3 separate regions of the Homo sapiens genome follow, and regions 1 and 2 are each linked to region 3. The links are contacts of gene promoters, found by promoter capture Hi-C in human tissues and cell types (Jung and others, 2019). All regions are on one chromosome and are shown on one strand. Each heading gives the region's core, a stretch centred on a gene start or on the middle of the fragment in contact. The rest is flanking DNA. Distances are from core to core; before and after follow the strand shown. Region 1 overlaps DUSP16 (dual specificity phosphatase 16). Region 2 overlaps LRP6 (LDL receptor related protein 6). Region 3 holds the start of MANSC1 (MANSC domain containing 1).

What was found. The method cuts DNA at HindIII sites, captures the fragments that hold promoters and counts their contacts. A contact is called where the count stands out against the background at its distance.
Region 1: a contact is called between a fragment that was not itself captured here and the fragment with the promoter of MANSC1 in region 3, in 1 of the 25 tissues and cell types used here (hippocampus).
Region 2: a fragment that was not itself captured here is called in contact with the fragment with the promoter of MANSC1 in region 3 in 1 of the 25 tissues and cell types used here (hippocampus).

The regions. Positions count from the first base shown.
Region 1 is chr12:12,494,277-12,498,765 of GRCh38, forward strand. All of the region lies in intron 4 of DUSP16 (dual specificity phosphatase 16), which reads right to left. Among named protein-coding and RNA genes, the nearest start is that of DUSP16, 66 kb to the right of the region's middle. The HindIII fragment of the contact is 4,009 bases long and covers 1-3,290 here.
Region 2 is chr12:12,123,982-12,128,356 of GRCh38, forward strand. LRP6 (LDL receptor related protein 6) reads right to left here. Exons shown (of 23, transcript NM_002336.3): 20 at 2,710-2,940; 21 at 1,315-1,451; 22 at 584-681. Among named protein-coding and RNA genes, the nearest start is that of MIR1244-4, 14 kb to the left of the region's middle. The HindIII fragment of the contact is 3,485 bases long and covers 165-3,649 here.
Region 3 is chr12:12,348,730-12,352,797 of GRCh38, forward strand. MANSC1 (MANSC domain containing 1) reads right to left here and starts at 1,513. Exons shown (of 4, transcript NM_018050.4): 1 at 1,349-1,513. RefSeq lists a silencer at 1,514-1,823. The HindIII fragment of the contact is 3,549 bases long and covers 1-3,207 here.

The sequences.
Region 1 (4,489 bases), core at 36-2,535, 150 kb after region 3:
TGTGTTTACTTAATGTTTAAGGACATGTACATTTCATACAAGTTGCATGGGTTACAAATTAGGATATAACTATTTATTTTGAAAAATAATCACCAAGGGCTTACTATGCATCAAGGTATTCTGGGGCATAAAAAAGCAAGTGTTCTCACTGAGGGATGAATAGTCTACTAGCAACTGTAAGACAGTTGCACGAATAATGATGATACAAAGAGGTATCCGATGAATATAATGTAGCAGGATAAACAAAATGGCAGTGGAAAACAGGAGTAAAACCAAAGGGAAGGATTCTGAGAAGACTATTTATAATGGGAACTAAAATTGTCAGCTGAAGCTCAGATGGCGGTAGAGGCATTCCAGATGGAGTATAGAAAATGAATGAAGACCAAGGACAGGACAGAAATATCTGGGGTGCACTCACTAGGTGAGTGTGTCCAGACATTGAAAGAGGATGAGCAGAGGAAGAGAACAGGAGAGGTAAGAACTAAAAAGGTGGTATTAGGTCCTGGAAGGTCTTAAATATCAAGCTAAAGAGTTTTACTGCCAAGCTACAGAACTTTATCAAATGCCATACTGAGAAGACTGATCGATTTATTAAAGCAAACTCCTAAAGGATCTCTTCTTGGAAACAATTCATTAGTGGTTAGTGTGGAATCTCAGTGTGGCACGGAATAAAGTAAAGTACATGGGTAACGGCCCCAGAAAAACCAGAGCACAGCCCAGCGCATTACCACTCATCGCCTGGGTGATCTTGGGAAGGTTACCTAACCTCCGGTAGCTTTAATTTCCTCACCTGTAAAATAAGGCTAATGATGTGTATTTTGTAAAGCCAGTATGAGGATAATAAAGTGCCTGACACATAATATAGGGTCCCCTGAAATGTTAGTTCTCTTATTTTATCTTGTTGTAAAAATTGCTTGTAAATTGTATGGTATATGAATTATATCTCAGTAAAGCCATTACAAAAAAAAAAAAAAAAAAAAGCCCATGATGTATATTTTTCACTAATCCAAACTGTCTTTTCTCCTAATTGGTGTTAAGTAGGGAAATTACATTGAATACAGCAGGCGAGGTTCATCTGCAAAGTGAAGACATACTCCCCCTAAGGATTTAAATAGTGATTCTAGTTTCAACACACAGTTGAGTAAACTTTCAAAAATGATTATCTGTAAACCAAGACAAATTTCATTTTATTATTATGATTTCCATTCACAACTTTTCTCCCTTGAAAACTTTCTCTCTCCTAACCCTGAAATAAGCTTTCTCCTGCAGTCAGACTAATTTCTAAATATGAGTTCTATGATCCTTTGATGCAGACTGTGAAGTAGTACAGAGAGAACAGATTAATATATGGCCTTAATGAAACTGCTCTGTTTGGTCAAATTCTCTCTGTTCAGTGAGGCTGAGGACAGAGATCTCATTAAATAACCACAGGCATTTCAATTCTAGATAAAAGAATTGTAATTTTTCTTTCTGAAGTCAATTCCATGACTAATTTTGCATTTGCCCATCCATTTGCCTTCAAAACTGGCCTCAAGTCCTACTTAACTCCATCAAGCCTTCCTCAAACGACAAAACACACTGTATCTACTACTCACCCTAGTAGGCTGCATAGTCTACCCTAAGATGACAATGACAAGTGTCCCTATAAACCAGGAACTGTGCTTGGCATATGCCATTTCATTTGAATGTTACATGAACACCAGGAGGCCGGAGTTATTGTGGCGTGTAGGTAAAGAGACTGAGATGCAGTAACAGCTGAAGTGATATGGCTGGTAAGGTGGAGAACTGGGATGCAAAACTGTCCACCCCTAAAGCTGGCTCTCAACCATCATGCCGTGCTGCTTCCACACTGGGAGGGACACTGTAGTCACCTTGTCATGTCAATTGTTGTTTAATGAATAGGTCTTGTCTAACCAACTTGAACACTGTATGGTGTTCTACATAGAGTGACATCATAGACATTGAAGAAATATTTTATTGATAATTTTGACACGCTTTTGTGTTCCTAGATCATATATTTCCACTGGAAACTCTGAAAGCATTCTTAGCCTATATTGTGTTTAGGCTATTTGTTGCCTAACTCTTCTAAGAAAACAACAGAGAATGTAGCAGTCAGTCTTCCTACTGTGTACCAGGCAGAACAATAAGAAAGCCTAGGAAAACCAATTTTGCATGTTAAGAGGCTGAAATAAGAAGCTATACAAAAAATGTTGACAGCAGATTATTTAAATGGAGAAGGAGCAGGCAGCAGAGCTCCTTTAGAAAAGAAGCTGCAGTGGTTCACCTCAGATACAGTTCTGCTTAATAACTACTCCCAATAGGTAAGTCAGTCATATGCTGCATATATTTAAATGTGAACAAAAGTCTGCATTTGAAATTGTAACTGATAAGAGAGAAAAGCAATCAAGAACTTTTGTCTTTCACAGAGTAACCAGAGATTCTTTCTCAAATCCCACTCATTTCAAATATGAACTAGGCATCAGCAGATGACTTTTATTTAGTACAATAAGCTGCTCCCATTTCAGCTCTAGTACAAAGACTAGAGGATGAAAGAACACACTCTGAGAAACAAAGTACAGTTGTGAGGGAAAAGGAAAATAAAAGTATGTTTTTGGTACCGATGACCTCTTATGGTCTTCTACAAAAGAACCATGTCTTTAAAACATCAGTAAAAATTAATACATGCTGAGACCTAGACTGTCCAATAAGGTAGCAGCCACAAGCCACACATGGCTACTGAGCACCTAAAATGTGACTACTCCAAATTGAGATGTGCTGTAAGTATAAAATACACACCAGATTTTAAAGACTCAGTACAAAAAGAGACTGTAAAATATCTCAGTAATTTTGTATACTGATTGCATGTTGAAATACTATTTTAGATATACTAGGTTAAATATGTTATTTTTAAACATTAAAATTAGTTTTGCCCATTTCTTTACTTTTAAAGGCCACTGGAAAAATTTAAATTATGTATGTGACTTGCATTATATTTCTGTTGGACGGTACTGGTATAGATGATGTTGCAGAAAAAACAGGGAAAGAAATTCTCCATTGTGACTCAATAGACTTAAGATTTCAGTCCTTCGTAACAGCCTGCTATAGAGAATTCCTTTTTCCAGAAGATGGGCATTTTTGGTGTAATATAAGCATGGGACTTAAAATTACAGCAGCCTCGGTTTACATTTGATCTGTGCCACTGACTAGCTCTGAAGTCCATGACATAATCTCGGGTAAGTGACTTAGCTCAGGGCAAATGTATCTCCTAATCCTATTATGAGGGTTAAATGCAATAATATAAAAAGCCCAGCATTTTAAATGGGAAACATTATGATTCTCCCAAGAAAATTTCTGTGACATGCTTCTAACATATTTTGGTGGCACTTCATTTAAAAAAAAAAAAAAGACTAATAGGCCAGGCACGGTGGCTCACGCCTGTAATCCCAGCACTTTGGGAGGCTGAGGCGGGCGGATCACGAGGTCAGGAGATCGAGACCATCCTGGCAAACATGGTGAAACCCCGTCTATATTAAAAATACAAAAATTAGTCAGGCATGGTGGTGCGTGCCTGTAGTCTCAGCTACTCGGGAGGCTGAGGCAGGAGAATTGCTTGAACACGGGAGGGGGAGGTTGCAGTGAGCCGAGATCATGCCACTGCACTCCAGCCTGGTGACAGGGCAAGACTCCATCTCAAAGAAACAAAACAAAACAAAACAAAACAAAACACTAATAATATTAGTGGTCTCATGGTTACTGTTTGTAAAGACTTCAACTTCTGAATTTTAATAAAAAGAACTGTACTGTTAGGGAAGATTATAAAATTTTCATTTTTGGAGATCTTTAGGAAAAAAAGAAGCATATTATTTCTCTTGGAAAGTATAAATCACGAAGTTCAGCAGGATGATAGGTTAGTTAATACTATTTGTAAAAAAGAGGCAAATCTAGTTCTAAAACTCAACTGGATAATGTTGGGGAATTCATGTAACATTTTTGGAATACTGATTTCCTCACTTATCAAATGCTGGTGGCTGACTAAATGATCTCTGAAATCTCCTTCAACGCTAAGGTTTTTGTCAACAACGAACCTAGAGGTCAAACATGCATTTCTTTATTTTATTTTTTATTATTTATTTATTTATTTATTTATTTATTTTTTGAGATAGGGCTTTGCTCTGTCACCCAGGCTAGAGTACACTGGCACAATCTGGGCTCAGTGCAGCCTCTGCCTCCCAAGCTCAAGCAATCCTCCCACCTCAGCCTCCCAAGTAGCTGGAACTACAGGCTAGGGCCACAAAGCCCGGCTAATTTTTGTAATTTTTGTAGAGACGGGGTTTTGCCACGTTGTCCTGGCTGTTCTCAAACTCCTGAGCTCAAATGATCTGCCCACCTGACCCTTCCAAGGTGCTAGGATTCCAAAGTGTGTGAGCCACAAATATAAATTTATATTCACTGCTTTCAAAGCTATCCAGCTTAATAGTTTATTCTTATT
Region 2 (4,375 bases), core at 657-3,156, 220 kb before region 3:
AGTCACTTTGGTGGGTAATTCCTCCTTAGAATACTGCCAAAGCCTGAGGCTGTATTTTATTATTATAAAAGCCAGCATTTGTGACTCTCTTAAAAAAAAAAAAAAGTATAGGCCAGGTGTGGTGGCTCACACCTGTAATCCCAGCACTTTGGGAGGCCAAGGCAGGCGGATCACCTGAGATCAGGAGTTCGAGACCAGCCTGGCCAACATGGTGAAACCACGTTTCTACTAAAAATACAAAATTAGCTGGGCGTGGTAGCGCAGGTCTGTAATCCCAGCTATTTGAGAGGCTGAGGCAGGAGAATCGCTTGAACCTGGGAGGCGGAGGTTGCAGTGAGCTGAGATCATGCCATTACACTCCAGCCTGGGCAACAAGAGCGAAATCCATCTCAAAAAATTAAAAAAAAAGTATAACGTCCTGAAAGGAAAGGATTTGTGGTAGAGGCAATGTCAGTACTATCAAGATAAGATGACTAGTCTCTCTCTGGTGACCATCGTCTACTCATTTGGGGCTATATCAGGTCCACAACTGAAACACTTTCAATAAATACTGCACCTTATTTTAGAGAAGGATGTGTATTACCTGTATGACCTATGAGTGGAAGGACTGTTTGAAGAATATCCAAATTCCATAGTGTAATGTGATCGCTCTGTGGCTGGGGATGGTGGAGGGTTCAAAATCTAAAAGAAAAAAATAATTAAAATATTAAAATAACAACATAGAAACTATCAGACTTTCTTTCAACTTTTCTTCCTTCATCTCTATTAGTGTTTCTTTACAATACACTATTAGCACAATTCTTCTTTTCCAAAGAATTGACCTCAAACAGTACTTTGGGACTATGGCTTCCTCATTCCCTAAGACCTCATCATGGCTAAAAAGTGCAAAGTGACAAAAACGAAAATCTGTAACCTAAAAATCATTGGTCAGTACATTTAGGTCCTGGTTATTTAAAATAGTAAGTATTTAGAGAAAAATTATTGATTTAGGAGAAATTCCAGGTGTGCTTCCTCTTTTGGGAAGTCATAAAATGAAGGCCCTAATCCCTCAATAGGTACCATTCAGTAGTTCTACTTTTACTTGAAATGTGAAATTAATGCCCAGTGCTTTCAAGTATTCTGGTTACTACACAGTAACTTAAAAGATTTATAAGCATGGATGGTGGTGTGTGGTAAGTCCTTTGAGCCTTTTATGCCTAAATTTTACATTCAAAAACTACTTTTACATTACTATCACTGATCACCCACATTTAAATGAGTTAAAAAATCTAAGATCTTATGTATGTCGCATTCAAAGGAAAACAGACTACTTACTGCAGGGAAGTAAGTGCCTTTGGTGCTTGAAGAACTACTTGATGATGCTCCTGTAACATGGGCTCGGTCATAGGGGGGTCCACTGCTTCCCCCCATGATACTGAGGGAGCTGATCATTGATTTACCTCGAGACATTCCTAAAATAAAAGGAGGTTAAAAACTGAAGATGAGTATGATATATAAAAATGTATCAAGCAATTTCATTCAACAGTAGGATTACAAATATCAACAGTGAAGTAGTCTGATTTTAAAATAACTTACACTCTTTTCCTATAATTGAAAACATTTAATGGAGAAAGGAAATGAACGTTTTCTAGAAGTCAATGCTTCCATTGAAAGAGCTGGCCTAGAACAAGGCCAAGAATAGCTCCCACCTTCTCCCTCCCCTGGTAGAAGCAGAGCTATTTAAAATAAGGGCTTTTCAACCTCTTGGAGGATTTGAAAGGATTGTAAAGGGTAGAGGTTGTGAGGCAGGGCATATTAAATACCAGACTTGCTCAAAAGAAAACAAAAAAACATTTTTAGGGCACAAACAACATATGAAAGAATATTTTTTCATCTAATGAATATAAATGTTGCTAGAATCAAAACTACCAGTGCTAAAGAAAAAATTCTATTTTTTCCAAGAAGCTTCCCAAATTCCACTAACTGAAAATAGGTATGGCAACAAAGCAACACTACCATTAACAGTTTAAAAACCATGTTTGTCTACTTAAGAGTTACACCCATAGTAAGTTCCTATTTTCAGAGGGTTTTTGCAAGGCACCGCCTTCTCCATATTCATTAAAAGGAAGGCGTCTTTTAACTAAGGGCACCAGAAAACATTAAAAAGAAGGCCAGTTCCCTAGAGCAACACGGCCTACCCAAGCTTAAAACTTCTGGCTACTCAGCTATGCCTAAACTAGCCCTTTGTCCCTTATTAGCACATGAAGTCAGGAGAAAACTTAAGACATATTCTCCCTTCTATCATCCAGCTATTTACAAATCTTTGTTGGCTGAAGGGAATCTTATATAATTTTTGGCCTCCTTTTATTCATGGGCTCCATAGTACTAGAGTTCCCTGGTGGTGAACTTAACCTGTGGTTTACAACTCTTTCACTAAATGACTGGCTGATTCACCTTCCGTAGCATGCATCCAGAATTGCAGTCAGAGAGGCTTAGAGCTTGCATATGTATTTGCTTTATATGCTTTGACAATTTCTACCAAACCATATCTAAGGCCTTCTGTGTAAAGAGAAGGTGCTAATAGTAAAAAAGAACGTTTGTCCTTATAATTGTTTAAACTCAGAGTAATATGGTTTCAGACAGACTCTAGGTAGTATTCTTTTCCACAATGGAAACTGGCAGTCTTGCAGGACCAAAGACTTGATTCTCAATGGATCCATCCTGACTCACCTGGAAGAGATCCTGACAAAGAACTTGGGTGTGGCACATAACCAAGAGGCACAGAAGCTGGTCCATGAACTACATAGTCATTAGTCATAGTTTCCCCATCTCCCTTCATACGTGGACACAACATCCTCTGGCAGATAAAGTATACAGTTCCAGACACAAAAATGGTGACAATTACGCCAATAACAGAACCAACTGTATTGGTGGCCTGTGGTGCTGGTTCTTCAGTCGGATCTACAATGAAGAATGCAGTATGGTTATTTAATAGAAAAACAACTGTATATTCAAAATAGTAATCAAAAGAGGGCTTGCTAATAGGATGTGAAGCTATAAGCCTAATGAAGATAATTCATAAACACTTTTCTTTTTTATGAGTACATACATACCACGCCCTGAAGACATATGAAATAAATGTCATCATTAGGAATCAAAATGAACTACCCTTAAATGAAGACAGAAATAAAACAATAGGTTGGAAAGTGTAATTGTAAACAGATAGAAACAAAGATGGTAAATGAAGTACAGATTTAAACACCATTAAGAAGCTTTAAATAAATAAACAGATAAAATCCATTCTACTTCATTCTATATACCATACAAATGAACAACGGTATTCCAAGATTTCGGGAAAAAATTTATGACCAGAAGGGATAAACCTAGAAAAGTCATCAAATGTTTTACCTGGAATGGTGAAGAAGCCAAAATCAGCTCTGAGCACATGTTAGATTTTAGATTTGAATAGTGACATTTAGGCCTGATGAATGAAAACTGGAAGCTAAAGATAAGCCTCAGCTCTCAAATCCCCTATGCTGCTGGCCTTCAGGCTGTCTAGTTGCCTGAGACCAAGGAACATAAGGTCTTTAATACCTGATTACTGGAGGACTCACAAAGAAAGGCCACATTGCCAGAAGAGGACACCACCCCAGGGATTCACCTTCCCTGGATCCCTGAGCTACCCGTTTAAGAAGCAGAGGGCATCAATATCAGAGGTAGAGGGAAAGTGAGCTTATTGAAATTAGAGCATTACTGTCTCTATTCAGAGGGAAAATTCTTCCATTCTGAACAGTTAAATTTTATCTCACAGTTGCAGATCCTTTAAAAAACTTCCTCCTGCTTCATCTTACCTCAAATCTCCCATCCATATAGCTAAACTCATCCTCTGACAGATTATATGAAAGAAATGCGTGAAAATGACATCTCTAAGTTACATAATATGTAGGGATTATCATTTACAAATTTAGTCTGTGGAATCTGAAGCATAGACTCTTCTTAGTCCTTGAGAACAACCGTCTCATCTTTTCATTCCTTTTTAGTCCCCTAACATTCCTTTGCAATGCCAAGCTTCAGGAAAGAAAAGTTTACATTCACTACCCTCAATCCCTAGCCTCTGGGTCACACCATAAACTCCCTGAAATCAGACTTCCACCCTCACCACTGCACTGAAACTTTTCTGTCAACAGTCAAAGTTCTACTATTTGCCATATTCAATATATTCATTTCACTAACCTCTTTACACAATACTGCTGGCTCCTGTCTTCTCTTTAAAAAAAAGTCTGATCAATATTCTTCCAAGATACCACTCTCTTAATTTTACTATTTCTGATTATTCTTTCTCTGCTTCCTTTGTTGGCTTCATTCTCTTCTGCCTGCATCTTAAGTGCAGGTGCTT
Region 3 (4,068 bases), core at 263-2,762:
AAACCCAGAAACAAACCAGTATATGGTAATAAAACACAAGTCTAATACTTTTCTTGCTGTTTGTCAAAATTCTGTATACAGTAAAATAGTAACATTTATTGCGTCTAAAATGCCAGTTTCTATGCTAAGCACTTTATATATATCATGTCATTTAATCTTTACAGATCCCATTATTATCCTCATTTTAGTTAAAACTTACAAAAAGTTGTGGGACATAATATGTGCTTCTTTATTAACCTATTAAGTAACAAGTGGTCATCTAATAACTGCCATAATTTTGACGTGGTATTGAGTATAGATAATATTTTGAAACGTGCAACAAGTCATGTGATATAAAGATATCGGCAATATTTACAGGGGGCAAATCATAGCTACTGCTAATACTACTGTGGCTTTTGCCTACATTCCATTTCAGAAGTCGGTGAAATAATAATTTTTTCCACTCAAGTTCACAGACATCCTGAATTCTATCCATGGATACCTTATCGTGGACTCCCCAGGTTAATAATTCTGGCCAAGGTACTTAATACGCTGCCATATTTTGCAAGCCTCTAGGGAATCAAGAGAAAACCAGGCCAATACTTTATTTTGAATGGATTCTAATGTAGCCTCTTTTCAAGCTTTTGCAAAGAAACCTGAACTATGTAAGGAGATGGGGCAGGAGTTGTTTTCAGTATGCAGCATTGAGAGAAGTGTTTAAGAGTTTTATATCATTAAAGAGGCTCAGCAATATTAGGTTAGCGACGTTTTCTAATCCATTATTATTTAGGCTTTAAGGGCCTGAAGTCGAGTTGAATCTTGTTGAAAGACGGGGTAAAAGGATACAGGCGGGTGAGAGAGGATGCCCCTGAGTTTTAACGTCTGCATACAAGAGTCGCTAAAACTTACTCGCACGTAATTAGTTCAAATATTGGAAATCGTCTTACAGCACACTATAATTTACCAAGATGCTTATAACTGTATACACACACACACTCTACAGAGAATTAGACAATTAGCAGTTTCAATAATGAATACAGAGTCAACGACAAGAAAACAGGGAACATTTTCTCTTCCTTTGAGGAAATGCATGTTGCCTACTGAGCTATTCTTCTGCCTCTCCTTCTGATGTCAACGCAGAGCCAGAGCCATTTATGGCAGGTGCCTTGAGCCCGCCTAGAGGTCCCCTTTGGAATACTGCAGCGACTCAAGGATCCTGGTCAGCCCTTATTGGCCCCAGCTGGTCCTTTGGATGCTCGGGTGTGGGTGAAGGAGCCTCGGCCCCTGGAAAGGAGGGGACCGACTCTCTCCGCAGGTAGCGACGTCGCCTGCGGCCGGTCGGGGGTGGGTATTGGGGAGACCCCTTTACCTGGCGTCGAGAGGACCCCGGCGCCCCTGCTGCCATCCAGGTGCGAGGACAGCTCTGTCGCGCCCGCGGGAAGGACCGGCGAATCCGCGCGGGGGTCTCGGCGAGGACCGCAGCGGATGCTCCGCAGCTCCCGCACCGGCCTGGCGGGTTTTGTGGTTAGCAAGTTCCTGCTTCCGTCGCAGCGACGGCAAGTTTGCCGCGGGGGAAGGGCACGTTCCTGCCCTGCAACCCGGAGCTGCTTCCCGGCAACATTAGCGCGTCCCTCCCCGCGGAGGCTCCGGGCTCCCGGCCCCAGCGCTGAGCCCCGCAGGGAGGTGGCTCCCCCCACCGCCCCGCGCTCCCCCCCAGCTCAGCCACACCGCTGACCCCGGGCTGGGCGCGCTGCGAGGGGGAGTGCGTGCCTCCCTGCTGGTGGCCCGAGGGTCTGCAGGTGAGCCTTGCCTCGCGGCCCGCGCAAGTTAAAATAAATGCACATGGGGAAAATGTCAAACAGTACAAAAATAGACACAGAGACAAGTCTACCCCTCACCCCCGTGCCCCAGTCTCCTAGTCTCCCTCCTCAGAGGCAACCACTGAGAGCAGTTTTTTGATGTTCAAGGGCTTATAGTGCATCCTATTGGGGGCATAGTTCTGAGAATCCTCTTTCCATAATTGGAGGATGGAGTCCTCAATTAAAGATGGCAATTCTTGAGTTAAATATTATCTGCAAGACAAACTTCAGGGAAGGTATTTGGCTTTCTGCGGGATTTATTGTTTGTAGATAGGATAATAATGGTGAAAATGCTGGTGTCTGTAACATATATTAAAACTGTATCCCTAACACTTAGCATAGTGCCTGGTACACAATAGGTGCTCAGTAAATATTTAACTAAAATATTTTTGTTGACTGAATGAATGGAAAAGAACTGCATAGGGCATAGGTTGTGGAAGTTTCTAAATTACTGCTGGCCCCATCCCCACCTCCATAAACACACACACAAATGCAACGTTACTAAACCATTGACACTTAGTTTGCCATATGGTCTAACCTTTGACAGTATCTTCACCTCTGTTTTGAAAGAGCTTGCAGACCTGAAGCGCTATGCAATTGCAAGTTAAGTCTAGGCCTGTACGGCCAACAGCTACACACCCTAGTCTTAACCAATAACTACAGGAGGATTAGGTTGACTGAGAATGCTTGTGAACAAAGGTCCATTGTGTGAAACTAACTCTACTTGTAACCAAAGGATGACTCTTGAATTACAATGTTGCTAAAGCTAGGTTTGAAAGAGTTACCAAAGAAAAGTAAACACCAGAGTAATTTCCCATTGCAGTGATTTTCCTGATGCAACAAGGGACTGATCTGCAAGTGTGTTTTATCTTTTATCATCTGATACACTTCAGGGTTCAGGGTGTAGAGCTATCACAGTTTTTGAATCTCTCTACATGGGGTAATCCATGCTAGTTACAAAGTAGACCTTTCCATTATTAGAAACTTCGTATTCGGTGCTTTAATACAATGAACCTGTTTCTTTTTTTGTTTTGTTTTGTGTTTTGTTTGTTTTTAGAGACGGAGTCTCGCTGTGTTGCCCAGGCTGGAGTGCAGTGGTGTGATCTCGGCTCACTGCAACCTCCACCTCCCGGGTTATAGCAATTCTTTTGCCTCAGACTCCTGAGTAGCTGGGACTACAGGCACATGCCGCCACGCCCAGCTAATTTTTTTCTATTTTAGTAGAGATGGGGTTTCACCGTGTTGCCCAGGCTGGTCTCGAACTCCTGAGCTCAGGCAATCCGCCCGCCTCGGCGTCCCAAAGTGCTAGGATTACAGGCGTGAGCCACTGTGCCCGGCCTGAACCTGTTTTCATTGAAGTGATATGTTATTTTTTCAGTTATGACAGTGAACAAAGGATATTGATTAAAATAATGATTAAAGAAATATTTTCTATTATATATGTTTAATTTATAAATATCATTGTTTATTTATTCATTTTTTTAGACAGGGTCTCGCTCTGTTGCCCACACTGGAGTGCAATGGCACAATCACGACTCACTGCAGCTTTGACCACCTGGGCTCAAGTGATTCTTTTGCCTCAGTCTCTTGAGTAGCTGGGACCACAAACGCACACCACACCCAGCTAATGTTCTTAATTTTTTTTTTTTTTTTAATTTTGAGATGGAGTCTCGCTCTGTTGCCCAGGCTGGAGTGCAGTGGCACGATCTCAGCTCACTGCAACTTCTGCCTCCCAGGTTCAAGCAATTCTCCTGCTTCAGTCTCCTGAGTAGCTGAGATTACAGGCTCATGCCACCATGCCCAGCTAATTTTTGTATTTTTAGTAGAGTCGGGGTTTCACCATGTTGGTCAGGCTGGTCTTGAACTCCTGACATCAAGTGATCTGCCCACCTTGGCCTCCCAAAGTGCTGGGATTATAGGCGTGACCCACCGTACCCGGTGTTTTAAATTATTTGTATAGATGAGGTCTTGCTACATTGCCCAGGCTAGTCTCAAACTCCTGGGCTCAAGCAATCCTCCTGCTTTGGCCTCCCAAAGTGCTGGGATTACAGGTGTGAGCCACTGCACTTGGCTTACTTAAAAATAAAATAAAAACTTTAATTTCTGGCCTGAGTCATAACTTAGAAATTATATCCATTGTCACTTCATTTCCTGAAGAGATTCTTGACACTCTTCTCTGAGGGTTAGAAGTCCCATCTATGTGGAGAAAGATTTCTTTAAAAGTAATCGG